7 separate regions of the Homo sapiens genome follow, and regions 1, 2, 3, 4, 5 and 7 are each linked to region 6. Evidence: promoter capture Hi-C in 16 types of primary human blood cells and fetal thymus (Javierre and others, 2016). All regions are on one chromosome and are shown on one strand. Each heading gives the region's core, a stretch centred on a gene start or on the middle of the fragment in contact. The rest is flanking DNA. Distances are from core to core; before and after follow the strand shown.

What was found. Contacts are between HindIII fragments. The CHiCAGO score rates a contact against its expected background, and 5 or more counts as called.
Region 1: a fragment that was not itself captured here is called in contact with the fragment with the promoter of CDC73 in region 6 in 2 of 17 cell types (M2 macrophages and neutrophils); the score reaches 5.4 in M2 macrophages.
Region 2: a contact is called between a fragment that was not itself captured here and the fragment with the promoter of CDC73 in region 6, in 10 of 17 cell types (neutrophils, monocytes, M2 macrophages and 7 more). The highest score is 17.9, in neutrophils.
Region 3: a fragment that was not itself captured here is called in contact with the fragment with the promoter of CDC73 in region 6 in 2 of 17 cell types (total B cells and monocytes); the score reaches 5.5 in total B cells.
Region 4: a fragment that was not itself captured here is called in contact with the fragment with the promoter of CDC73 in region 6 in 3 of 17 cell types (total B cells, neutrophils and naive B cells); the score reaches 6.5 in total B cells.
Region 5: a fragment that was not itself captured here is called in contact with the fragment with the promoter of CDC73 in region 6 in 3 of 17 cell types (monocytes, total B cells and neutrophils); the score reaches 6.5 in monocytes.
Region 7: a fragment that was not itself captured here is called in contact with the fragment with the promoter of CDC73 in region 6 in 1 of 17 cell types (total CD4 T cells); the score reaches 5.0 in total CD4 T cells.

What each region holds. Positions count from the first base shown.
Region 1 is chr1:192,494,264-192,498,177 of GRCh38, reverse strand. No RefSeq gene overlaps it. Among named protein-coding and RNA genes, the nearest start is that of RGS1, 80 kb to the left of the region's middle. The HindIII fragment of the contact is 1,699 bases long and covers 1,495-3,193 here.
Region 2 is chr1:192,476,803-192,480,691 of GRCh38, reverse strand. No RefSeq gene overlaps it. Among named protein-coding and RNA genes, the nearest start is that of RGS1, 97 kb to the left of the region's middle. The HindIII fragment of the contact is 4,574 bases long and covers 235-3,889 here.
Region 3 is chr1:192,510,289-192,513,821 of GRCh38, reverse strand. LOC105371664 (a long non-coding RNA gene) reads left to right here. Exons shown (of 5, transcript XR_002958418.2): 5 at 1-709. Among named protein-coding and RNA genes, the nearest start is that of RGS1, 64 kb to the left of the region's middle. The HindIII fragment of the contact is 3,164 bases long and covers 1-3,088 here.
Region 4 is chr1:192,459,535-192,463,264 of GRCh38, reverse strand. No RefSeq gene overlaps it. Among named protein-coding and RNA genes, the nearest start is that of RGS1, 110 kb to the left of the region's middle. The HindIII fragment of the contact is 2,290 bases long and covers 1,278-3,567 here.
Region 5 is chr1:192,538,641-192,542,355 of GRCh38, reverse strand. The region is part of intron 4 of LOC105371664 (a long non-coding RNA gene); the gene reads left to right. Among named protein-coding and RNA genes, the nearest start is that of RGS1, 35 kb to the left of the region's middle. The HindIII fragment of the contact is 1,260 bases long and covers 1,304-2,563 here.
Region 6 is chr1:193,119,876-193,123,589 of GRCh38, reverse strand. It overlaps CDC73 (cell division cycle 73), which reads right to left and starts at 1,559. Exons shown (of 17, transcript NM_024529.5): 1 at 1,259-1,559. The coding sequence starts at 1,389. RefSeq lists enhancers at 1,122-1,171, 771-1,415, 1,442-1,511, 1,416-2,062 and a silencer at 1,672-1,751. The HindIII fragment of the contact is 13,310 bases long and covers 415-3,714 here.
Region 7 is chr1:194,060,270-194,063,729 of GRCh38, reverse strand. The region is part of intron 5 of LOC124904475 (a long non-coding RNA gene); the gene reads right to left. Among named protein-coding and RNA genes, the nearest start is that of LINC01031, 760 kb to the right of the region's middle. The HindIII fragment of the contact is 4,408 bases long and covers 1-3,460 here.

The DNA of each region.
Region 1 (3,914 bases), core at 1,095-3,594, 630 kb after region 6:
TCAGTGAGACCAAGAACCCACCAATTCTGGACACATTTGGAGATAGGGTCTTTAAAGAGATAATTTAGTTAAAATAAAGTAATTAGGGTAGGCCCTAATGTCATACTGAGCATTGCATGCACACACTAGGGGAATACCATGTAAACATACAGGGAAAAGATAGCCATCTGCAACTCAAGGAGAAAGGGCTTCGGAAGAAACCAGCTCTGCTCACATCTTGATCTGGGACTTGTAGTTTTCAAAATTGTGAGGAAATAAATTTCTGTTGTTTATGGATCCTAGTCTGTGGTACATTGTTATGACTGTCCTAGAAAACTGATACAGGTTGTTTCCAGTTTTTGGCAGTAATGAATTAAGCTTCTGTGAATATACACATTTGCTTAATGAACAAATGTTTTATTTTTTTTAGAATGAAATTGCTGTCTCGTAGAGTAGGTGTTTGCTTTTATAATCCACTATGAAATAGTTATGTAAAGCAGTTCTACTATTTTACAATTCCAGCAGCAATATATGAGAAGCGCAGGTGCTCTCCATCCTCAGCAATATTTGATTTTACCCATCACAGTGGGTCTGAAATATAGATCACTGTGGTTTTAATTTGCATTTACCTGATGAATAATGATGGTGAACAACTTTTCATATGCTCATTTTTACTAATACCTCCTTTATGAAGAAGATTCATTTTTGTATGAATACATTTTTCCATTATTTTTTGCAAAAGCTTGATAGTTTAAGCTTTTATGATTAGGTCTGTGATTCATCTTAATATACAATGTCTGGTCAAGTATTTGCTCATTTAAAAAAGTTTTAGATTTAGAGGAGTTCTTTGTGTATTCTGGGTATACATCTTTTGCTAGTCATATGTGTTGCTGTTTTTGCCTTGCCTATTTATTTTCTACATGGTAACTTTTGATGAACAAAAACTTTTATGAAGTGTATATTTATGAAATACATATATTTTTTCTTTGGTGCTTTTCATATCCTGTTTAAGAAATTTTTGCCAAAGTATATTAGTTTTATAGAGGTGCTGTAACAAAGCACTGTGAACTGGCTGGCTTACCAAAACAAAACTATTCTCTTATAGTTCTGCAGGCTACAAGTCTGAAATCCAGGAGTTTTCAGGGTTAGTTTATTTTGGAAGTTCTGAGGGAGAATCCATTTCATGTGCTTCTTGTAACGTTAGTGGTTATTGGGAATCATTGGCATTCCATTGTAATTTCTGCCTCTGTCTTCATAAGACATTCTCCCCTGTGTGTGTCTGTGTCCGTTCTCTTCATCTTATAAGGATCCCAATCATATTGGATTAGGGCCTGCCATACTCTAGTATGACCTCATTTTAACTTAACTAATTATATCTGAAAAGACTCTATTTCCGTCTAAGGTAATATTTATAAATATTTGGGGTTAGGACTTGAACATGTCCTTTTCAGAGATACATTTTAACTCACAAACTTAAGGTTACAAAAATATTTTTTTTCATTTTTCATAAAAGCTTGATAGTTCCAGCCCTTATGAATAGGTCTATGATTCATCTTAATATACAAACATTTGTACTGAATGTGATTGTGATAGAAATCAAAGTTTAATATTTTTCAAATATTTGTCCAGTAGCTGGAGGACTATTTGTTCTTATGCCCATATTAATCTGTCATGATCACAGTACCTTTGTATTAAGAACTATTTGTTCTTATGCCAATATTAAACTTTGTTCTTATGCCAATATTAAACTGTCATGATCACAGTACCTTTTTATTAAGTTTTGAAATGGAGTAGTATAAGTCCCCAACTTTATTCTTGTGTTTTAAGATCAATCAGACTAGTCTAGATCCTTTGCACTTCATATAAATTTTATAATCACTTTCATAATTTCTTCTAAAAAGCATACAGAGATTTTGATTGGGATTGTGTTGAACAGGTTAATTAGGGTAGAAAAAATGTATTAACAATAAGACATTTTCTATGTTACATATATAAAATATCTATTTATTTAGGTCTTTATTTTTTCTCAGCTAGGTATTATTTTCAGTATAGAGATCTTTTCTATTCTTGTTAGATTTATTAATAGATATTTGATTTTTTATTTTATTATAAACAGTATTTTATTACATTTTATTATAAACAGTACTACTATCTATAATAGCATGGAAAAAATCAAATATCTACCAATAAATCTAACACAAAATATGAAAGATCTCTACACAGAAATAATACTGTTTACTGCCAATATATGTCTATTTCCTCCTTTTTTTACTGCTATTGAAAACTTGTATTTTCTGTCTTTTTCATGGTCAATCTTGAGAGAGATCAATCAATTTTATCAATGTTTTCAAAGAACCACTTTTTGACTCTAATTATTGTTAGTTTTCTATTTAATTGGTCTGATTTAATTTTTATTATTTCCTTTCTTCTACTTTGGTTTTAATAGGGTCTTTTTTCCTAGCTTATTTAGATGAAAGGTTAAATAATTGATTTAAAATTTTTAAAAAATTCTGATATCCATTTAAAGCTAAACATTTCTCCTAAGTACGTTTTTAGCTGAATCCCATAAATTTCAACATATTATATTTTTTATTATCAGGTCTAAAATATTTTCTAATTTCTGCATGATTTATTTATAATCTCTGTTATAGGATTGTTGTTTCATTTTTAAATATTTGGAGGCTTTTTTAGACTTACTGTTACTGATTTATAGTTTAATTCCATTGTGCTCAAAAAAACATTCTATAAGTCTTAAGTTTTTAGGATTTCCTGAAATGTATTTTATAGTATTTCACATGGTCTCTCTTGATGAAAGTTCCATGTGCACTTGAAAAGAAAGTGTTTTATAAATGTCAGTTAAATCAAGTTAGTTGAGAGTATGGTTTAGACTGTCTATGTTGATACTTAGTTTTAAAACTCTACTTGTTCTTTTATGCACAAAAAGATTTTATAATCCCCAACTATAGTTGTTGGTCTATTATTACCTCTATTTCCATGATTTTTGTTTCACGTATTTTGAATTCTGTCATTAGATCCATATGCATTTATGATTGTTAAATCTTCATGATGCATAGTCCCTTTTATCATTACCAAATATCTCTTTTAATATCTATCTCCTTCCTTGCTTGCATTTCTTATCTGATATTAATATAGCCACACCGAATTTCATGTGCTCACCCTTTGCTTAGCACATATATATTTTTTCCTTTAAGCTTTCACTTTTTATATTTTTATTTAAGCTACAAGACTGGGTGTGGTGGTCGATGCCTGTAATCCCAAACTTTGGGAGGCCAAGATGGGAGGATCACTTGAGACCAGGAGTTTGAGACCTGGTGGGATCTTGGCTCGCTGCAACCTCTGGCCCCCAGGTTCCAGTGATTCTCCTGCTTCAGGTTCCCTAGTAGCTGGGATTACAGGCATGCACCACCATGCCTGGCTATTTTTTAAAATATTAGTAGAGATGGGGTTTCACCACATTGGCCAGGCTCGTCTCAAATGCCTGATTTCAAGTGATCCACCCACCTCAGCCCCCCAAAGTGCTGGGATTATAGGCATGAGCCACCGAGCCTGGCCTCCATACTATTTTCTATAGAGGTTGAACTAATTTATATTCCCACCAACAGTATATAAGCATTCCCTTATCCCCGCATCTACACCATCTTTTGTTTTTTGACTTTTTAATAGAAGCCATTCTGACTGATGTAAGATGATATTTTAATGTGTTTTTAATTTGCATTTCTCGGGTGATTAGTGATATTGAGCATTTTTTCATGAGTTTGTTGGCCATTTGTATTTTTTCTTTTGCGAAATGTCTGTTCATGTCCCTTGCCCAGTTTTTAATGGGGTGGTTTCCTTTTTTCTTGAGTTATTTCAGTTCCTTGTGAATTCTGGATATTAGTCCTTTGCCAGGGACATAATTTGCAAATATTTTCCCC
Region 2 (3,889 bases), core at 1,272-3,771, 640 kb after region 6:
CCTGTTCCATTGCCACCACTGTTCACTGCTTAAACCCCTGACAAGACGGGGAGCATGCAGATGGGCATGTGTAGGAGCCGGGGTGAGTGCTTTGGGCTCCAGTCCCGTGGGTGGGTGCCTCCAGCTATTTTTGCCTTGCCATCTGCAGATGGCTTAAGTGTTACCAGCTCAATGGTCCCTCTGCCTTTACAGAAGGGCAGAGGGCCAATGTGACAGCTTTCTGTATCCCAAGCTTTTGCCCAGCATCCCAGGAGAATTGAGCCTTCCCAAGCCATGAATGTGGGGTTTTATTGAGTGGTGGAGGTGGCTCTCAGCAGGATGGATGGGGAGCTAGAAGGGGGATGGAGTGGAAAAATGACCTGACCTGGGAGTTTGGCCATCCAGCAGCTGAGCTCCTCTTCCACCATCCCCAGCCAAACTCCTCTCAGTGTTCAGAAATTCCTTCTCTTTGTTTTCTCTGCTGTGCTGTTCCACTGTTTGTGTTTTTATCTCCTTGTCTCTTTGTCTGCTTGTCTGCTTCTGGAGCCTGGGGTTCGGAGTTTTTGTGGGTACAGGATAGAGGGGCATGGGGGGCCAAAAGGCAGCTTTTTGGGTACAAAGACAGAAATGACTGTTCCCACTTAGGGCTGTGGGTCTCCAGGCTTAAGGGTGAAGCCTTTGCTGGGGAACTGCCCTCTTTTACTCAGTATTTCCCTATCTCCTGTCCATATCAGTAGCAAGTGCATCAAACGTGTTTTGAGGTGAAACATTACACACCAAGGAAGAGAAGAGATATGGAAGACTAGAAAAGGCACAGTCTAAGGATATAGAAGGATGATTTTAATCTATATAATATTGAAAAATTACTAAATAATTTAATTTCAGAATGAAGATGCTGGGACTTCAGGTGGAATAATTATAATTTATTATTTTCAACTCAGTTTTTATACTTATGTGTACCAATTATATAACTGATCTGTCCTGCTTCACCAACAACTTCTACAAAACAAGGTTATATTTATCAAGATATGCTGTATAAACACATTAATATCAGACAAAATAGACTATAAGGCAATACATATCACTAGAGATTAAGTAGACTACTTCATAATTACAAGAAGTTTAGTTTAGCAAGTGGCAATATAAATTCTAATTTGGAATGGACAAACTATATGACATATATATGTATAAAAATGAGCAGAACTAGATTGAGAAATAATTAAATACACAGTGATATGGGAAGATTTCAAAGCAGCTTCCCCTAATGGTAATACAAACTTTGAAACTGCAAAATTCATATCCCTCTATCACACATAAACCATCTATAAATTTCAGTGCATTTAAAATAACAGTGTGTTCTCTGACCACAGTAAAAATAAAGTAAACCAGACCACAAAAAAGAAAACCAAACTGGAAACAGCCTGTATACTTGAAAATTAAAAAATGTGTTTATATAAAAACTATGAGAGAAGAAATCACAATGAAAATTAGGAATATCATGAAATACATAATAAAAGTACAACATGTAGAATTTGTGGGACTGTATTAAAGATGAGTTCAAAGAGAAATTTAAATTGAAAATCCTATATGTCTATATTTTACAGGAAAGTCTAAAAATCAATCAACTAAACCTCCATTTCATGGTGTTGAATGTAGGAAAAAAAAGAGCAAATTCAATCCAAAGGCTATAATAGAAACAAAAACAACATGGCAGAAAAAAAGGAGTAGAACAAACACATAAACAAAGGCATCATCAAAGTTGCTAAATTTAAAATATTAATAAAATTGATAAAACCTTTAACAAATATTATGTATAATTATAAATAAGTTCTCCATCTGTTTCAATAAAAAGGCTAGGAGACTACTGTCATTAATTTAATTCTTCATATACTGGAGGATATGTAGCAATGCAGTAGGAAGAAGAAATAAAAATAAAAATATAGCAAAGTAAGAAAATTGATATTATTTGCAGAACAGAGGATCATATATATGGAAAATTCAAGAGATTCTACACATAGTTAATATCAATTAATAAAAGAATTTAGCAAGTTAGATAACTTCAGCCATGTACAGAAATTGTATTTATATGTAACAGTAACAGAGTTAGAAATTAAAATTAGGATATTATTTAAAATAGTATAAAAATATTTACACACCTAACTCTAAATATGTTCAAGAACTCTGCATAGAAAAGTGTAAAATATCATTTAAAAGAATTAAAATAAGACTCAAATAAACAAAGAAACAGAAGGACGTACTACATTCATAGGTTGTAAGACCCAATATTGTAAAGAGGGCAGTTCTATGAAAATCATTTATTACCATTCAATCAAGATTCCAACATGTTCTTACTGTTTTGGGAATATTGCTCGTTAGGTTGTGTCCATATATGTGCATGTGTGTGTGTGTAAATAAAAAGTCTTCATTTCAAAGTCTGGAATCAATTATTTTACAAGTTTCAAACATTTTTCTAGCATCTTGAAAGTTTGTCGGCCCAAAGCACTGTGCCTACAACAACTAATAGGTAAAATGACCCATTTGGAGTTTGGGTCTTTGTATTCCCAGATTCATGATCCTCTTACTATGCTACCTTCTCTCTCTGTTCTAATGAATATATATCATTTAATTATCTTGTTAATTTTAAAAATTAATGTATGTGTTGTTGAATGATTTTACTTTAAAATTTACATAAGTATGAGGTAGAAAATTGTGCTTACTAATTTTATATAACAATGAAGTTAAAATAAACTTATAAACTTTTAACTGATATTTGTGTCCTTACATAGTAAGTATCTTTGTTCTTCTATTTTCATGTTTGAAAAATAACGGTTTCTACCCATATTCAGAAAGCTCATTAAGAATTTACTGCTTTAGCTGGTACTGATTATTCACTGTATTTGTCTGCCCTCTAGTGATTGCAGAATAAAGTCTAAGGAAAAATTACCAGAGGTAAGAGTCAGTCGATTAGTTTTGCAGAAACTCTCATTATTTAAGTTTAACCTGGCTTCTTGTATAACACATTTCTAAATCATTTAGAAATCTACTACATGTCAATAACATAGACATTGGCATACAACAGTTTGATGCTGTTATAGTGTTATACTATGTGTGGATTAAGCTAAACGACTAATAAAATAATTTATATGTTGAAAAAATGAAAATGAATAAAAGGAATATATAATTATACACAAAATTTACTGGGCACCTACTCTCTGTGCTAAGCTCTTTTCATACATTATGTTATTTTATCTGTACAGCAGTTCCTTAAGAAGTCCCTGTTTTATAGATAAGAAAATTCAGGCTTAGTGCGGTTAAGCAACTTGATTAAGGTCAAATACCAGATAATAATAATAATATTAATAGCTATATTTATCAAGCATTTTTTAGTGCCACAGAAAGGTGCTCTGTTAAGCACTTTGTATGTCTATATTAGTCATTGCTCAGAATAGGAAACAAACCACTCTAGAGACTGAAAACAGAAGTGGGTTAATACTGCAAGTGAGATCCTGACAATCAGTGGGAGGGCCAGAGAAGTCGGTTTTTGAGTGGATATTGTGGGATGACTGCCAAAACAATGTGCAACTGACTCATTAGGAGTGCCCGCTCTGAGGTCATTACTGCAGTGATGTCACAAATCTCAAAACACTGAAAAGTCTGAAATACGCATGCAAACTCCGTTGCACAGAAACCTGTTCCTACCACGTTGCTAGCCAGCAGGAACAGCCAAGCGTTCGCGTCCAACTTCTCCCTCTGGTTGGCAGACACAATTCACACCCAGAGCCCTTGCTGCCAAGGAGTCTGCTAAATGTAGCGTTTATCTCCTCAGCTCCTATGTACAAAAAAGGAACATGGAAACGGGTGGGGTTGGCTGCTGGGAGCCAGTCAACCACACCCAGCATAACGCGTTATC
Region 3 (3,533 bases), core at 257-2,756, 610 kb after region 6:
TCCTGTGTAGGGTAAATTAAAAAACAAGAGATGTCTTGTTTGTTTTTTTTTGTTTTGTTTTGTTTTTGCCTGGTTCTATTTTATTTTTGGTCCAAATCACACTAAGAAGGAGTCTTAAGATTTTGAAGGGATAAACATCAGGAAAATTGATTCTTTTCTGTAACTTTAAATTATTTAAAGTTAGACAGCATCTTTCTGACAATACTTTATTTATGTATCTGTATCAACGCTTAGGGAGAAATGAATGTGGTTTTATTTTTGTATTTCATTTAACTTGAAACTAAAATGAAGCTAGCTATTTTCTCCCTCCTGCCCTTCCTTCCTTCTTTCCTTCTTTCCTTCTTTCCTTCTTTCCTTCCTTCCTTCCTTCCTTCCTTCCTTCCTTCCTTCCTTCCTTCCTTCCTTCCCACTGAAGCCCCATCATTAATGCAAATCCACCCTCTCCTCTCCCCTACTTCTCTACATCCACACAGCTGTCTTTTCCCTGCTTTGAAAATATGTACATTAGCTGAACTAGAGAGCTAAGGTATTTCACTATTCAAAGAAGAGTATTTCTTACATATATCCATATCACAAGGCTTTTAAACTATTTTTGACTCCTATAATTTCTATAACTCTTTACAAGTCTGATGTAGACACCAATTGGAGAACTTGAGAATTAAGTTTAATGTAAAGGATATCAAAGAGATAAAAGATAATAGAATTTCAACAGTGAAGTGTCAGATTCATTCTTGTGTGACAGTGTGTGATTGCTGTCATTTCTGCCACCCACAAGTATTATAAGTGAGATAGAGAAAAAAGGGCAGTCCCTTCTCAAGTTTAGATAAGGAAGTTGATCCTGACCTAAGACAGCACATTGATGAATGCTGTTTACAGTGAATGCTAATGGCTTTTTGTGGACTAACCATTAGGAAGTACAGTTGTTCCCCTTATCTCCTCCATTCTTGTTATTCAAACAAAGCATAAATTGAGAAAGTAGGAATGTAAAAGGTGGAAGATTAATGTTCTTTACTTTGCAAAAGACAAGATTTTACTTAAAGTACTAGGTTACAGATGAGTAATGTGGGATAAGGGAGAAGCCCTGACAGGACTAAGGGGCTATTGAACTCCCTCTGTGGCAAATGACCTCCAGGCCAGCAGTGCTTCCTCTGAGTACTATGATCATTCTTCTGTAGCTTCGGAAATGAGGAAAGCCCCAGCTGTGGGAAGTGGTTTCTCTTCCTTTTCCCTGTGGGTGGTTCTGGGGTGGGATCAGCTGGAAATCCAGGGTTAGAGTCACTTGAGCTGTGCACTTCCCCAAATGTGTATTTCCTCCATGTATAACACCATGGATGGGGTGGAGGAGAAGTTATTTCCTACGTTAGTTCTAGGGTTTAAGAAAGAGGTTCAGAAATAATATTCACAAATTAGAGATGGAGGAAGGGAACACAGATCTGTTGAGTACTTCATTTGTGCCAAATACTATGCTATTATTATAGTGTCTTATTTATTTATCAGATAAGAAATCTGAGAAATGAGATAAGGAAACTGAGGCATGGAGAGTTTATGAAACATGTCTGAGATTGCACAGCAGAATTGGATTTTGAACTAATACCTATTAGTTCCTCAGGCTTGAGCTCTCTCCACGTCATTACTCTGAACAACAGGAGGCAGAAAAAGCTGAAAAACAAAGCCATTATAGATGATCATCTGTCTGGGTTAAAAGATTAGGCAACAAACAAATAAATCTTGTTTATATTGTTTCACTTTGTATAATAGTTTTCTTAGAAACAAGGAGCAAGGCCTTCTCAATCAGGCTGCTTCTGTCTTTTGCTTTTTGGATTCATTCATAAAGAGTATCTAGGAATATTAAAAAAGTTCTGGAATAATACAGCTATTCTAGGCATAGTTTTGCTACCTAAGGCTGTGAGGTGACTTCCAGTGTGGAAAAATGCCTGAGGCGATTTTACACACACACACACACACACACACACACGTGCACACACACACAAATTATATATAAATTATTTAGTAACCCATAGTCTGGTCCAGGAACCACACTTGGAATATCACTGGCCAAGAAATTCAGCAGGACAATGGAAGAATCTAGACCAATTCTAAACATTTTATTTTTTGATATTCAGTCTTTAATAGATACAGGGATAAGGCTAGAATTTATTCTTTTTCTTTGATAATTTTTAAGTTTCAGTTAAATTCAGTTCAACACAGGGAGTATTTCCGTGCATCTTCTTTGTTCCAAACATAGCGCCACACACTCAGTGAAATTTAATCTTAATGCCTTGAAAGAAATAGATGCTAAAGGCTCTTATATTTTTCTAAACTGTAACTTTAAAACAAATCAGCAAACACATCTTAATCATAATATAAAAGGAAGAAAACATTAAATATAATCTAATACAACTTTATTTATGGATGAAGAAACTTCTCAAATAAATAACCTGCCCAAATTCACACAACTAATTGTGGACATGGCATGGATTGTAATTCAATATTTTTAGTAAACAACTCAGAACCAAATTCTCTCCTGGATTTTGAAAAAAAAACTCTGGGAAATATGCTGACATGTACCTTTCAATCCCTACTTTTACTAGTTCTTATTACCTCATATATAAATGATCATGTTTCTTTCTTGCTATTCTACTTGCCAGATCTCTACTGCCCCCAGCTCATCTTGTACCTGGGAGCCAGATAATCTTAAATTAATTTTTCTTGGCTGTGTGCCGTGGCTCATGCCTGTAATCCCAGCACTTTGGGAGGCTGAGGCGGGTGGATCACAAGGTCAGGAATTTGAGACCAGCCTGGCCAATATGGTGAAACCCTGTCTCTACTTAAAATACAAAAAAATTAGCCAGGCGTGGTGGCACATGCCTGTAATCCCAGCTACTCAGGAGGCTGAGGCAGGAGAATTGCTTGAACCCGGAGGTGGAGGTTGCAGTCAGCTGAAATGACGCCATTGCACTCTGGCCTGGGCAACAGAGCAAGACTCCGTCTCAAAATAATAATAATAATAATAAATAATAATAATAATAATTTTTCTCCTTCCATGTTCATCTTAGATTCCCAGGCTCTCCTGGATACAATGAAAGCTTTTTTGGCTAGCTCTGGAGGACTTCTAAAATCTGTTTATACTTTTCAGTCTCCACTATTTCTTTTATTGTTCCCCAAAATGAACCTTCTGCTCCAGACCTGCGATTCTCATGCACACACAAAACATTTGAATTCCTAACCTTCACTCACATGGATTCACCCACTGAGAATGTCTTATTTCCCCCTCCACCTATATGGCAAATCAGAATAGCGTGTCAGTGTTGAGCTTGGGCTCTCATGAAAGCCAAATCATGACGAAATTACAGCTATGTCCTTTGAACAACTTATTAACCTTTCCAGACATTCTTTCTTTGATTTCCTCTTATAGCATATAGGAAATGGGACAGTAGCAGCAACTTATCATAGGTTTTTGGTGGAGATTAATTGAGATATCACACGTAAGGCACTATGCCTGGCACCTGGCATGTAATGAACACAATGAATGT
Region 4 (3,730 bases), core at 1,173-3,672, 660 kb after region 6:
AGATGGGGTTTCACCATGTTAGCCAGGATGGTCTCGATCTCCTGACCTGGTGGTCCACCTGCCTCAGCCTCCCAAAGTGCTGAGATTTCAGGCGTGAGCCACCGCGCCCGGCCTTCATCTCCGTTCTATCAGAGGTAGAATGGAGATGAAAAATAAAGGAGATGAAGAAGTGAGGAAGCTGAAGAGCAGGGATTTTTACTCCATCATTCAGGTAAAAATGGAAGGATAATTGCAGTAATTGGGATTGGAGGAAAGATTGCGGATTATATAACAAAGTTTTCAGATAATGTGCATTAACTGAAAGCTAAGTGGTGAAAGAATACAAATACAAGCATTATAATGCTGTGTTTAAGAGAGAAGCTGCAGCCCATGGCAGCTTAAGAGATAAATCATTGTATAACAGATGTAGTGAGAAAGTGCAGGCTTAGGGTGGCAATGTCTGCCTGCATCAGCAAGAGCTGGCTGGAATTTGAGAGGATAACAGATTACTGAAGATGCATCTCTGTGTTAGAAGAGATGGTTCCTGCTTTTGCTTGAGTCACAAGAGCGTCAGCAGAATCTGGGCTCACGCTTTTCTAGGTATTTTTTATGATACCCAGAAATTCTGCTAAAACCTGTGGGGGAATTTCTGATTTCATTAAATTTTCACTGTTGTATTTTTGCTGCTTCTTAATTAAGTAATAATAGAGTATGAAGAAAAATGCTATTAAAAAAAAGATTGTGGCTGTTTCCTCCTAATGGAATTGCTTAGTTTATCTCTGGGGTAGATGGTTCTTTTGTTAATAAAAGCACGGGGTAGGATTTGATATCATTTTTGCTTGAGAAATGTAAGGCTAAGGATGTAGTTTGGATGGAGTAGCTGGCAAGAAGACAGACAATATAAAGTTAGAGGTATTTGGAGTTACCATGAGTAAATGAGAAGATAGCATTAAAAAGAAAAGTCAAAATAGAGAGGAGGAGCTCCTTAAGAGCATGTCAGAAGGAAAAGACTTACGGACACATCTAGACAATGATGAACATGTCTGTGGCAGAGAAGTGATAACAAATATCTAGAAACAGCGATGACCTCTATTGAATTTGCAGTATTTCCTTCCTATTCAATACTTCCCCATCTGTTGCCATCAAGTTTCCACTGAACATTTTTTTTAAATTTAAAATAGGCTTGTGTTTCTTATAATTTGTGGAATTAAAAAAAAGATGTCGTTTTGGTTATGACCAGATGCAGCTCTGTATGGCAGAAAGCTTGAAAGAACGTGGCTTAAATATGATGGGAAGCTTATTTGTTTCTCACATAAAGAATTCCAGGGAAAAGCAGTCCATAGCAGGTATGGTGACTCCATGGTCAGTCATCAGGAACCCATGCTCCTTCTAGATCTCCACTCTGCCACCCTGAGGGCGAAGCTGTCATCCTTGTGGCTCCCCATGTAGTCACTCCCACAGAACTTCTCATCTGTATTTCAGGGGATAGTACAGAGAAATGGATGAAGAACATATTTTTTCTTTCCTAATGAGGCTTTCTGGAAGTTCCACAGAACACTTTCATTTATGCAGAACTTTACACACATCTTACTGGCCAGTACGTAGAGATAAAGAAAATTGGAAAACATAGACTTTCAGCTGACTGCAATTTGTGAAGGTCAAAATTAGGACTCTATTATTTTGAAAGATAAGTTAAGAATGTGAATTTGAAAGGTGACAATGTGCCTCTGTCACAGAAAGATGAAATCCAGTATGAAGGGACATGGTGGGCCAAATGGGAACTGTGGTTGGGTGAGCTGGACAGCAGCAGGAAACCAAGCTGTGAAGTGAACTGACAGAAAATCAGCCCCACTCCAGCCCTAACCCCTCAACCCCACCCTTGAGAATGTGCAGGAATTTATTGGAGGACAGTGGTACAATTGCTATAGGATGCACAGCAAGGGCTCAAGCCATTCTTCTTGAATATTCTATTTGATCTCAATAAGACTTACCTGTACCCAGGAGGCAGACATATGAATCATGGGCTAGGAAGTCCTCTTGTCCACTTCTTAGACTGTAACAGCTTAGATTTTACTTCACTCTCAGAACTCCTCTTTATACCCACCCATCCCACCTCGGATTTATACTTCTATATTCTGTCATCTGAAACATCTGTTTTGGTAAAAATATCTGATTAGGTACCTTTTAAAGTATTTCTAACAAACATCGTCTCTTTTTTATTAAACAAATATGTGTTATGTGAATTGAGAATTATTGCCAACACCTCGGCCAGTTATATAAGTGTTGATCTGTGAATCAAATTTCTGATTTTTATTGTTGATACCCTATTTTCAGGCTTTGCTTGGGCTATTCTGGATAAATATGAAGGGAGCATCAGGGTTTGTGTTAAGGTCTCTATATGGTTAAGGTTCCCAAAGGAAGGAGAAAAATACGTGCAAAAATTATCATCTCAGGCTCCTAAGCTGTGCTTCCAGAAAACAAAAGAAAAAAACTCTCTCTGAGGAGGAAAAAAGTCAAAAAACCTGTTTTTCAGTTTGGGCCATGACAATAAAAATTGGTGTACGTGGTGGGTTGCCAGTACAATATCGGTGCAAAAGTCCCTTAGGCCTACTTCCGCAAGACTTGTTTTGCAGTTTTGACAAAATGGCGGAAAAAGAGAGGGGTCCATAGATTTTTAATTTTATTACAATGAGATGTGTTTCAACTCTTTTGCAATAAAACGTGAGGGCCAGATTTTTTTTGACTGGCATAAATTGTAAATTAGTGGTACTATAACATTTAAAATTAAATAAATTTATTTATGGATATAATAGAAATCATGGTTAAAGGTAAATTTTGCTCAACAAAATCAGAAATTATCAAAACTTTTGGTTTTAGGAACCCCTTTATGCTCTGAAACTCTACTAAAGACATCAAAACAATTTATGTATTTATATTTACAATAATAGAAATTAATGTTTAAAAAATTTATATTAATTTATTTAAAAACCAATAATAATCCCATTACACACTAGCTTAAATAATATATTTTAATGAAGTGACTATATTTTTCAAATAAAAGTTTAGTGAGAAGAAAAGCAGTGTTTTACATTTTTGCAAATCTCCTTAATATTGGGTCTAATAGAGGACTGCTGGATTATTGTAACTGCTTCTACATCCAATCTTTTTTGATATGTTGCTCTGTTTGAAGTAAATGAAGAAACTCCAGTCTTGCATACATGTATGTAGTTTAAAATGGAGGAATATTTTAATAGCTTTTAAAGATAGCTGTGAATAGTCTTCTTTGGAACTACATCCAAACCTGGCTATAGTAGTTTCTTCAAGGTTAATTGTAATGTAGAATCTAAAACTATCTCAATAAACTTCTCATGACATTAAAATCCACTGGTCTATTGTGTGATGTGAATGTTGATTCTGTAATATGATGCATTGAACACTTAGAGAATATTGTTATGCTGAGTTATACAGGTCTTCCAAATGTTGATGAACTTCATTACACAATATCAAAAATTTCATTCATTAATATCACTACCAAAATTCATCAGGCAACTCTTTAAGTGTTGGAAAGCTGTCAAGCTAATGGAAGCTTTCACTTGAAGCTTAAATTGTGCTATTGGCAATAAATACTGTCAGTTGTTTTCCTTAAGTGACAGGCTCATTTTGTTCATTTTTGAGGAAATGTCTGCCAAATATCCAAGTCTGAATAACCACATTTATCTACAAGTTTTTCTTTTCAGTAAAAATTGTTTCA
Region 5 (3,715 bases), core at 684-3,183, 580 kb after region 6:
AGTTCCAGGTTACAGCGAACCCTATGCCACCGCACTGCAGTAGCCTGGACAAATAGAGTGAGACCCTATCACAAGAAAAATAAAAAATAAAGAATAAAAAAAAGTTTGGTGAGCTAAAGGAATAGCAAAATGTTCAATACAGTTCTATTATAAGGATAAGTCGCTCCAATTCTAGAAAATAGTGGAATATAAGAACTTACCTCTAAGTATAAGGCCGTGACCCCTGAAAGAACAATAATAGCTAAATAAATTGCTACTTTGTCTTTCTCCAACATTGCTTTATTGTTTGCTATAGGAATTAGATCTAGGCCAATGAGAGTCAATATCTGCTTTCTTGATAAACATTTTCCCTCTAAGCTTCCAACTCCGTATTTATTTATTAAGCTTAAAGTAACACAGAATGTCTTCATTATTATGCAAATAAATATTTCATTTTTGGATTTATTTAACAAATATCATGTGCCAGTTTTGTCCTGGGAATAGTACTTAGTACATAAGAAAAGCTGATGACTGTGTCTATGACAAGGAATCTTTAGTGAGGAAACAGACATGTAGACAACTTCAATATAAATCAGATAACTGGTTTGAAGGAGTAATGTACAGAATGCTATAGGAACTCAGAAAACAGCTTTCCTATGTCACCTAGAGACAGCAGGGGCCTCATGGAGGAAGCAGCATTTAAGCTGAGAAGCAAAGCCTGAGTAGGAATATTCTAGACAGTTTAATATGTGAGAGTGGAAGGATATTCTAGGAAAAGGAAATAACATTTCATATAACAACTGTTCTCAGTGAGGAGAACATGGGAACGAGATTAGACAGGAACATAGGACCAGTTGGCCACTGACCTCAAAGGGATTTGCAGGTATGAGATCTGTGTGGTAGAAACTACAAGTACTGCAAGAAGTCGGAGAAGGGAGGTTTCTTGAGGTACAGAGATGCCAGCTCTGTGCAGGGAGTAGAATTTGACTAGGACTTGTACTTGGAAAGACTGAAGGGAACATTGCTCCAGGTTTGGTGAGCAATGTGGACCACTGTCCAGAGGTTGTATCAGTGTGGTCCCCCTGTTGGAAAGTGAAATGTATAAACCTGTTTTTAGCAGAGGCACATTTTTGAGATGGTAAAATTAAAGCTGGACATGTTACTGGGACATGTTATCAAAAGCTAAAAATTCTGGGGGTCACTTAAGGCAGTAAGACAGAAAAGTGTAGCAGAAAATGCTGTAGCTGGGAGTCAGTGGATTCAAGAACTGGTGGGGTCTATCGTTGGTTCTGTAATGTTGGAAATATCACCCAGTCCTCAAGCTTCTGGAGCTATAATATATAAAATGAGGATTGTTAAACCTCATACTCTGTAAGGCCACTCCACTTCTAAGTTGCCATATGTGTTTAATAAATAGGGACCTGTTGAAATTTTTAGCGGGTTTTATTGTGCTGTTGTTATTTGGCCTTAAGAAGGAAGTATTAAGTTTAGGGAACTGGGATTTAGATTCAAGGGTTTTGAGTTCAAGTTTTGTTTCTGTCTCTTGCTACCTTCATGACATTGATTAAGAAAGTCATTTAGTCTTCTTGAGACCATTTTCTTATCTGTGAAGCTGGGATGATGTTTGCTTTGCTTAAAACATAGGTTGAGGATCAAATGTGATGAATATATAAAATATTGTGTGTTCTATAAGGTGCTACAGGAAATATTTTAAAAGACATAAAGTGGTAGACTATTATGGTAATCTTATGCGAGGAGATATAATTTGGAGATAAGTAGTACCTATGAGAATAGAGAGCTACAAACGTATAAGACATTTTGAATGAAATATAGATAGAAAATAGATAGTGACTTATCTTACAGGTTGATGAAAATGAGAGATGGAGAGAGTGAAGATGGCAACAGTGACTAAGGAGTGTCGACCACATTTATTTAAAATCTCTGTGCTGGTCACTGTAGAAATTCTATTTTAATGTGAATGGATAGTGTAATAAAGTAAGTTTTTGTGGTCTGGTTCAAAAGTAGGCCAAAATGAAAATTTTACTTGCAAATTTCAAGAAGCAAATGGAAAGAGAACCAGGCCTTAGAATATATTTGCGTTTCTGTATTGCCCACTAATATTTTTGTATAACACATTTTAAGTAATAAAAATCTGATAATTTATTTGTCCACCCTGGAAAGGAAAAAAAGATAAGCTATAAAGCAGTCTAATTTTATCAAACCATTTTTGGATACCTTATAAGTAAAGTCAGAAAACTAGAAGTGAAAAGGGAATGCTTCTAGAAACTGTAGTGAGGTCTGCATCAAATCCTAAGACATGTTTTTGCTCCAGGTTTCCTGCAATTGCTACCATAAAGGGAGCATTTCAGACCCAGTGCTCTGTAATGTGGTTTCTTTCCTCTGGAATTCCTCCAATCCTTCATGAATAGCTGGAGGAATGCAGACCTCTGGAGGCTGTATTTTACAGGTTGCTATGGAACTGTCTAAATATTATGAACAGTGCAGTGGTATATGACATACGACAGCCCAATGCCATGAAATTAGGGCAGCTAGAAATCATTTCCATACCCTTGAAATGTAAGCTTCTAGTTTAAAAGAATGGCATGAATGTTTTTCATAAATAAATTATCCTTTATCACACTAAGTTAGATCCTGGGTGGAGATAGGAAGTCTGGGACTTCAAAAGAGCTTTAGTTCAGAGAGAGGCCTGTAGACCCTAAGAAGCAAATACACAAGCAGGCCAGGGGAGGCCTAGTGAGGGGAAGGAGGAATATAAAACTTCGTAGTTTTCAGGATATAGATTGTAATGTTGATGTTACAAAGAGAACTGCTTTAAAAATCTCACTCCAAAGGTGTGCTTGGAGGTAAACAAGCTAACATAACTTCGGGATCAGGCAAGTCACTTAGAGCAAAAACGGGGCTTCCTCTTTCAACACCCTTTTTTTTGTGCTGTGAGACCCCCAAACTCTCAGCTACTCAGGGTTTGATGCTTGACTTTTTCTCAGATTCCAATAATTGTTTATGAAACCTGATTCAAATTTTAAGTCAGAAGTTACCCACCATAAAACATACCTCCCCCTCCTCCCTGGTTCTACTTAAGTTTCATTTAAATAAGAAATATAGCTCTCTGGGTACAATTTTTTGAATAACAGTTCTGTGAATGCTATTTGCTTCTGCAGGTTATGCCAAAGGCAGTTTCCTCTCTGAATGAATGTTTTTAATGTGCAAATTCAAAATACAACGAGCCTACGTCATAAGCTGCACTAAGTGAACAGAAACTAAGTGCAGCTGGGCTTTGTGGCTTTTCTTGTTTTCTTTCCTTTTTTCTCCCCTTCTTCAGACAGTTGCTATTGAATAGTTTTTTTTTTTTTTAATGAAAGAGGGTAAAACATTTCTCACAAATCCTTTTGCCTGCACCAAGAAATTCAAATTAAGCAATTGAAAATGTAAAAGGAACAAATAAGTTTTGCTTTGCAAGATGTAGGGGAGCCCATCTGTCTTGAGTATCTGGTTCAGTTTCATTAAGAGTTGCAAGTATCCACTTCATGTTGCCTCTCTATTTTCTTATCTACCCTGCCTGGGAGGAGAGGACAATCGCCTTCCCATTTTTCTTTTTTGGTTTCTTATTTAAGTAGCATAAAATATATTTTAAAAATACATTTTTGTTTATGTAAGGTTTTTTAGATATGCCACCACCTGAATATCCCTGTGTAGAAAAAAAGGATAAACTCCCACT
Region 6 (3,714 bases), core at 310-2,809:
TTGATCAACATTTTATAAAGCTAATTAAATCATAAGACAAAAAAATTTTAAAACCAACCAATAGGCAGGGCGCCGTGGCTCACGCCTGTAATCCAAGCACTTTGGGAAGTGGAGGCGGGCAGATTATTTGAGGTCAGGAGTTCGAGACCAGCCTGACCAACACGGTGAAACCACATCTCTACTAAACTACATAAATTAGCCGGCCATGGTGGCGGGGGCCTGCAACCTCAGCTACTCAGGAGGCTGAGGCAAGAGAATCACTTGAACCCAGGAGGCAAAGATTGCAGTGAGCCAAGATCGCGCCACTGCACTCCAGCCTGGGCGACAGAGCAAGACTCCCTCTCAAAAATAAATAAATAAATACCAACCAACAAACTAAATTTCCCTAGTTTTTCATCGACTCTTCATAAAGCTTCCATTCAAAGAAACAAAATGAGTAGGGAAGTTGTAGCTCAAGGTTCTAATTCTAGAAGCGATGCACCAATGACAGTGACATCATTAAAAAGGCCCCTAATGACTGTTAGAGCCGTCTCTAGAAGTTTTCCTGAATGACTTAAACTGATAAAACTTCACATGGACCAACATTCCCAAACATTTCCCTTTAAAATACACTTCCGAAAAATCACACGCACCATCTATTTCTTAGATCTGTAAAGCTCACTCATTTCACCAACTCCTGAAGACCTCTCTAACACAGACTTTTATGACTCTTCCAAATTCACCAAATTTCTTTCCGGTCCTAACTTCAGGGTTGATTCCCTTTTCTCTTCTACAGGAATCACCCCCACCCCAACAATGAAAGGAGATGAAATAAACCAGGAGTTGCAAAGACCAGCGGAGATAGTTACATAGCAGCCTGGAAAAGAGAAAAAAAAAATAAAGAACAAAAAGAGGCGTCTACGGCACCAGACGGTGTGCTCCTTTGTGCACCTATGTTCAGGTATCCCTTGCGCACCAGTCCCACACTTCGCTGGTACACATACCTACTGATAAAAATTAACTGTAAAAGTCAGAAACTCCCACGGTACCTTTCCTTTGGGCTTCTCAAAAATTTTAAGTGATGAACTGCTCTAGAGCTCCGCCCCTTCTTTCCTTACCCTAAAAGTGCAACTTCTGCTCTAGAGAGAAACTTTCTTTTCCCCGAACACCCGTTTTATCCCATCCCCAGGGGAAACGGGGGGAGGGGTTAAGAAAGAGGTCGCCTGGGGGCGCCCAACTCTGCCCTGCCACCCCTGGGCCACAGCCATGCCGGACTTACCCCCAAACAACATAGTTGGTCTTCACATTCTTGGGCCAGGAGAACTCCCCGAAGATCACTTCGTCTCCCTTCACCACAATCTCCTTCTTCTGGATGTTGTACTGTCGCAGGACGCTAAGCACGTCCGCCATCTTCCCCCCCCTCGCCTCCGCCGGCTCGGGGCGCCGCCGCTGCCGCCGCGCCTGCCTCCTTCTTCTCTTGTCGCCTCGCCCTCTTCCTCCTCCTCCTTCGCCGCCGCGACGAACCAACAGCAGCAGCACTAACAGCCGTCCTCGCCTACGACAGCAGCAGGGGCAGTAGCCACCCAGGCCGCCGAGGACCCCGCGCTGTAAGGCAAGGCCCCGCCGCCGGCTGCCCGCGGAGAACGCCTGACTGCGCCCCTCCAGCGAGGCACATCCGCCGCCAGGGGGAGCCGCGACCGCCTGGAAAAGTGCCCCTCCCAGACTTCAGCTGGGCACGGAGCCCACTCACTCGCTGAAACGCTGAGCGCTGGGGCACCGCGCCCACGTACGGCGCACGTACGGGGAACTTTGCCGGGCGCGCGCGCGCGGAGCACGTACCCAGTACCCCGCGGCGCGCACCAAGCGGCGTCAGGTGCGCGCGTACCTGAGCAGTGGGTCAGCACTTCCATCCCCAGCACGTGCACTGAGTATTTAACGAACTGTCTCGGGTGCGACCAGAGGCTCCCCCGGGTCCCTGCTTTGGCCGGGATGGAATTCGGCAAGGATTTGCGGAACACTAGAATTACCTTCCTATTTAGATCGGACCCAGGCCTAGCCAAAGACCTCTAGGACTTAGTGATCCGGAGAAGCCCTTTTGAAAGAGTGGGGCTCTTGGGGTTGGGGTTGGGGTTTTTTGTTTGCTTTTGATGTGGAAAAGAACGAGTTTTGGTTTTTTGTTGGTTTTGAGTGGAAAAGACCGAGTCCAGAAAAAAAAAAAAACAGTTCTGGGCACTGCTCGTCAAGTTACATAGCTTCTCACAGCATCAATTGGTTAATGAAGAAAATGGGGTTAATACGAAGATAAGGTAAACGCGCCTAGCAAGTCAATAAAATATCCTAAATGTTGGATCCTCCCTCTTCATTCTTTGGATGATGACTTTTTCCATCGCGGTCCCTTCTCCCCGCCAATCCCGAAGGGCTATATTCAAAAGGCTGTGTTCCAAGATGTAAATGGGAAAGTTGCCCTAACAGAAACCCCAAACGGTCCAATTTAGAACACTTCCAGACTACCCAATTTTTTAAATGGTACTCAGAAGTCTCAGTGGTGTCCTTGACATGCGTTTTGAGACGGTTAAGATAAGTTCAATATACTATGGCCAACCAAACACATCCTATGGGATTGTTTTTTTTCTTTTACCATGTCAGAAGGAAAAAAGAGGCAACTTTGTGTTTGACATAACCAAATTCCTTGACCTGTTTTGAAAAAAGTCAATCTTTTCACAACGCAGAGGACTACAGATACAGAAGTGTGTGGTTCATTTCCGATATGATCTGTAGCCATTCTGCAACTGTTAGTTTGTGAAATTTTTTTCTGTTCCACCAATGTTTTCACCCCGTAGTATTCTCCTGAATCTCACCCCAAGCACACACATTATAAAGAAATGGCTACAATTACCTATCCCCACATTCTCTATTCATACCTGTGTCAGAGCACTCAGTACCATATTACTTCCCTTTATAGTTTATTTGCCTGCATCCACAAAACTGAAACACCATAGATCTGTGTCCTCATATCCTACTGTCTAACATTATTTGGTACATATTAGTAATAAATGGATGAATTCAATAAATTGATGGAAGCTCCTAGTAAATATCGAGTTAATACATGGATAGAGGCTTCTAATAAATGTTGAAGTAATGAATGGAAAGATAAGCTCAAGGAAGCCAAGATTTCATGATTAGGAGGCTCGACTATAGTCCCTTCAAACGATACTTAATTTTATTTCATACTCAAATAATGATTAAAGTCTCTCTTTTCAGAGAAATTATGTTTTTTAGGTTAATGAATTTTAAAAAGTGGTAAGATAAGTCATTAGTAAGTTGTTGCTTTTAACAGTTAAAGCATTGAAATTTGTAGATCATTTTTTTCCTGACCAGCCTGGGCAACATACCTAGACCCTGTGTCTACAGAAGCAATTGTAGATCATTTTTGTTTTTATCTAAGTACCCTTATAATTGCCCTACCAATACTGGTTCATTGGAGGATGTCAAAATACAATAAAAGGCAAGATTAGTGGTAGAGCTGAAAAATTAGAAAATTAATTAGAAAAAAACAGAAAAATAGTCTGGTTTCTTTGTCTTGGGCAAAAGCAGTCCACATCTCCAGATATTAGCTCCTGAAGAATTCCTAAAAAATCTTTAGTTTTATGTCTTCTGTTAGAGTAAATGCCCAGCAATCAGAAGAAAGTGGTATGTCTTTTTAGTTGGAAACGATGGATCCAACATCATTACCTT
Region 7 (3,460 bases), core at 644-3,143, 940 kb before region 6:
TATCTAGACCCATGCTTTCCACTCCAGGGAAATCATGAAATCATGATTTAAATTCCACTTCCATTTTCTCACTTGTTTACTGAGAATAATAGCACCTGAATATTACTTCCCAAGCAACGTGTGAAAAACTGATAAGACAGATCCAAAAAATAAAAATAAAAAGAGTGCAGAGCCAAAAAAAAAAAGAAAAGAGAGAGATATTTTACATTAAAATGAACAAGTTATTGAGAGTGACTGAAATATGAATAATTTAATCTACAAAATCTTTCTATCCACTCAAATAATTTGGATGTAAAGACAGAAGTCACACAGTTACTTTCTTTCAATTTTTTATCCTTTCCTTAGTAACTATAGGGGTTATTTTCTGTTGCCCAAAGAAACACAAGATATGATTTTCATCAGATTTTCTGGGTCAGTATGTATTAGAGGAAAATCCAAGAACCAGGAACAAGATAAGGTGTGTGGTTTCTCATTATGCAACAAGGTTCAGAAAGATCATAGAGGAATTTAGTAGGGCCTGTCAGATATCACATTCATGGAGAGGAACTCTGGCCCTTGAACATGGAAATGTTTGTTTACATTTTATGACTGGGGAAATAGCAACTTCAATCCTAGTGAGAACATGGGCTGGATCCAACAACAGCATGACTTGGCAAGTCACTGAACTTCTCCCTTGTTTCACTATATTATTACTTATCTTCTTTGAGAGCATTAAGCCCTTCTTCCGTAAGTCAGTTTCGCTAAAAGAAGAGCCTGAGACAAGGATTCTTGAGCAAGTGATTTATGGAGTGATTGCTCTCAACTGAATCCAGTACAGGAGCAGGTAATAGGATTGAACTGAGGAAGAAACTAGGCAAAGAAATGGGCTCAGCTGAAGTCTAGCCTGATCGAACAGGGCTTTCTGGAGTATAACTGACACTAGAGAGCTGTCTCAACTTGATGAAAGAGGGGTGACTATTTGTACCCAGTATCTATTAAAAACTGGCTATCAGCTGTCTCTGAGGAAAGGCTTTACTCCTCTGACATGTCTGGGTGAGTAATTTCCTTTAGTCAAGAACAATTATCAGGAACAGAATATAACTATGAGCTGTTAATAGCCAACATCCAAGCAGTGGAAGGCTGGAGGCACTGATCTGGTAAAAGTGATTTGAGTGAGGCAGCAATAGTGTCTTTTATACTTTCCCAATGCCCAATAATAGGGTCCCAGGAGACAGCTCCTTATAGGCCACCCCATCACACCAAGTGTGTTGGTATCCTAATCTGATATGTATGGTACACACTTTTGGGCTTTCCTCATCTCCATCCTTCAGATGGCTCATATTTTTCCTAGCATTCTATCTACCTTATGCACTAAATGGTTAGTTGATTTAAGTAGGATTGGGTACAATATCCTTTTCATCACATTTCTTTCCTAAAATAATAACAATTATAATAATAGTTTTATAAGGAAACCCTAGGTGGTAGATCCACTGATTAACTTGGTTTTATTGAGGTTATTTCCTTAATTAGAGAGTCAGGGATGATGGAGTTCACATGGTTTATGGGGTTTAGTGCCCCTTCTTCATGGTTTCCATTTAACTGAACTGTGTAGCACAACAGAAGCATCAGGCCATCTCAGCCATACCACACCACCACATGTAAACGTTTCCCACTTGTAGACTGATTTCTGGTCCCTTGATTTGTTACCAGCCTTCCATGCTGGACACCAATAAAAATGGCTTGGCCAGTCAGGCACGGTGGCTCACACCTGTAATCCCAGCACTTTGGGAGGCTGAGGCAGGCGGATCATGAGGTCAGGAGTTCGAGACCAGTCTGGCCAACATAGTGAAGCCTTGTCTCTACTAAAAATACAAAAAATTAGCTGGGTGTGGTGGTGTGTGCCACTAATCACTACTATTCGAGAGGCTGAGGCAGGAGAATCACATGAACCCAGGAGGCCGAGGTTGCTGTGAGCCAAGATTGCGCCACTGCACTCCAGGCCAGGTGACAGTGTGAGATTCAGTCTCAAAAAAAAAAAAAAAAAAAAAAAAAAAAGCCTTGGCCATAGTAGCTATTTCAATAACAGAAAGACAATGGCCATATAGAACACATTTTGTTCGCTGAACAGCATTTATTGGAAAAAATGAACAGAAACTGAAAAAGTAAAAGGTGTGTCTTCACACCATCACCCACCTCAATATGGCCCAGTAAACTAGTATTTAGTAGGACTGGGCATAAATTCTAGGAAAGGAACCTGGCCATTGGTAGTGGAGATTTTTTAGTTATATGATTGGAGAAGAGCCTGTTTCTTCTTCTATCTTTATTGGTAGGCTGGGGTTCAAGCCAGGAGACTGCAGCTATCCAACAAAACAGAAACTTGTTATCTGACCCAATTCTACCATTTTAGTAATCAAAGTTCGGAGCACTAGCTGGAGTATAGTCTGTAGGTTGCAGCTTTTGTGATAAATGGAAAGGTGACCTGATTTCTTACCTCATTTTACTATCATTTAGAGTATTTTGGTAAAGCCAATTTTGATAGCATGTTAGAGGAGGCCTAAAGTAACAGGAAATCAGTCCTGAACAAGTTAAGTCTTACTTTCATTTTTATACAGGAAAATTTAGTTATTTTTAAAAACGTAATCTCTCTCTACCTAAGAAGAAACTTAGAATTATAAAATATAGCTGGAAGGACTTTAGCAATCACCTAGTACAATATCCACATAGCAAAATTAAAATAGAATTTTCAGTGGTGATAAAGATATGGATTTTATCAGATTCTAAAGGACTATGTGTCAGTTCATGTCCTCTGAGAAGCAGATGTCAAGATGGGTGATATGATTTGGCTCTGTGTTCTATCCAAATCTCATCTCAAATTGTAACCCCACGTATCAGGGGAGGGGCCTGGTGGGAGGTGATTGGATCATGGGGATAGATTTTCCTTTCGCTGTTCTCATGATAGTGAGTGAGTTCTAATGAGCTCTGATCATTTCTCCATTCTCTCTCTCTCTCTGTTTCTCTCTCCTGTTTCTTCATGGTAAGATATGCCTTCTTCCCCTTCGCCATGATTGTACATTTCCTGAGGCCTCCGAATCATGCTTCCTGTTAAGCCCACAGAACTGTTAGTAAATTAAACCTCATTTCTTTATAAATTACCCAGTCTCAGGTATGTCTTTATAGCAGTGTGAGAGTGAACAAATACAGAAAATTAGTACCATGAAAGTGGGGCACAGTTATAAAGATACCTGAAAATGTGTAATTGAGTTTGGAACTGGGTAACAGGCAGAAGTTGGAACAATTTAGAGGGCTCAGAAGACGACAGAAAGATGTGGGAAAGTTTGGAACTTCCTATGGACTTGTTGAATTGTTGTGACCGAAATGTTAATAGTGGTGATGAATTCCAGGATGATGTGGTCTCAGTTGAAGATGAAAAACTTATTGGAAACTGGAGTAAAGGTTTACTCCAGTACTTGCTACTGGAGTA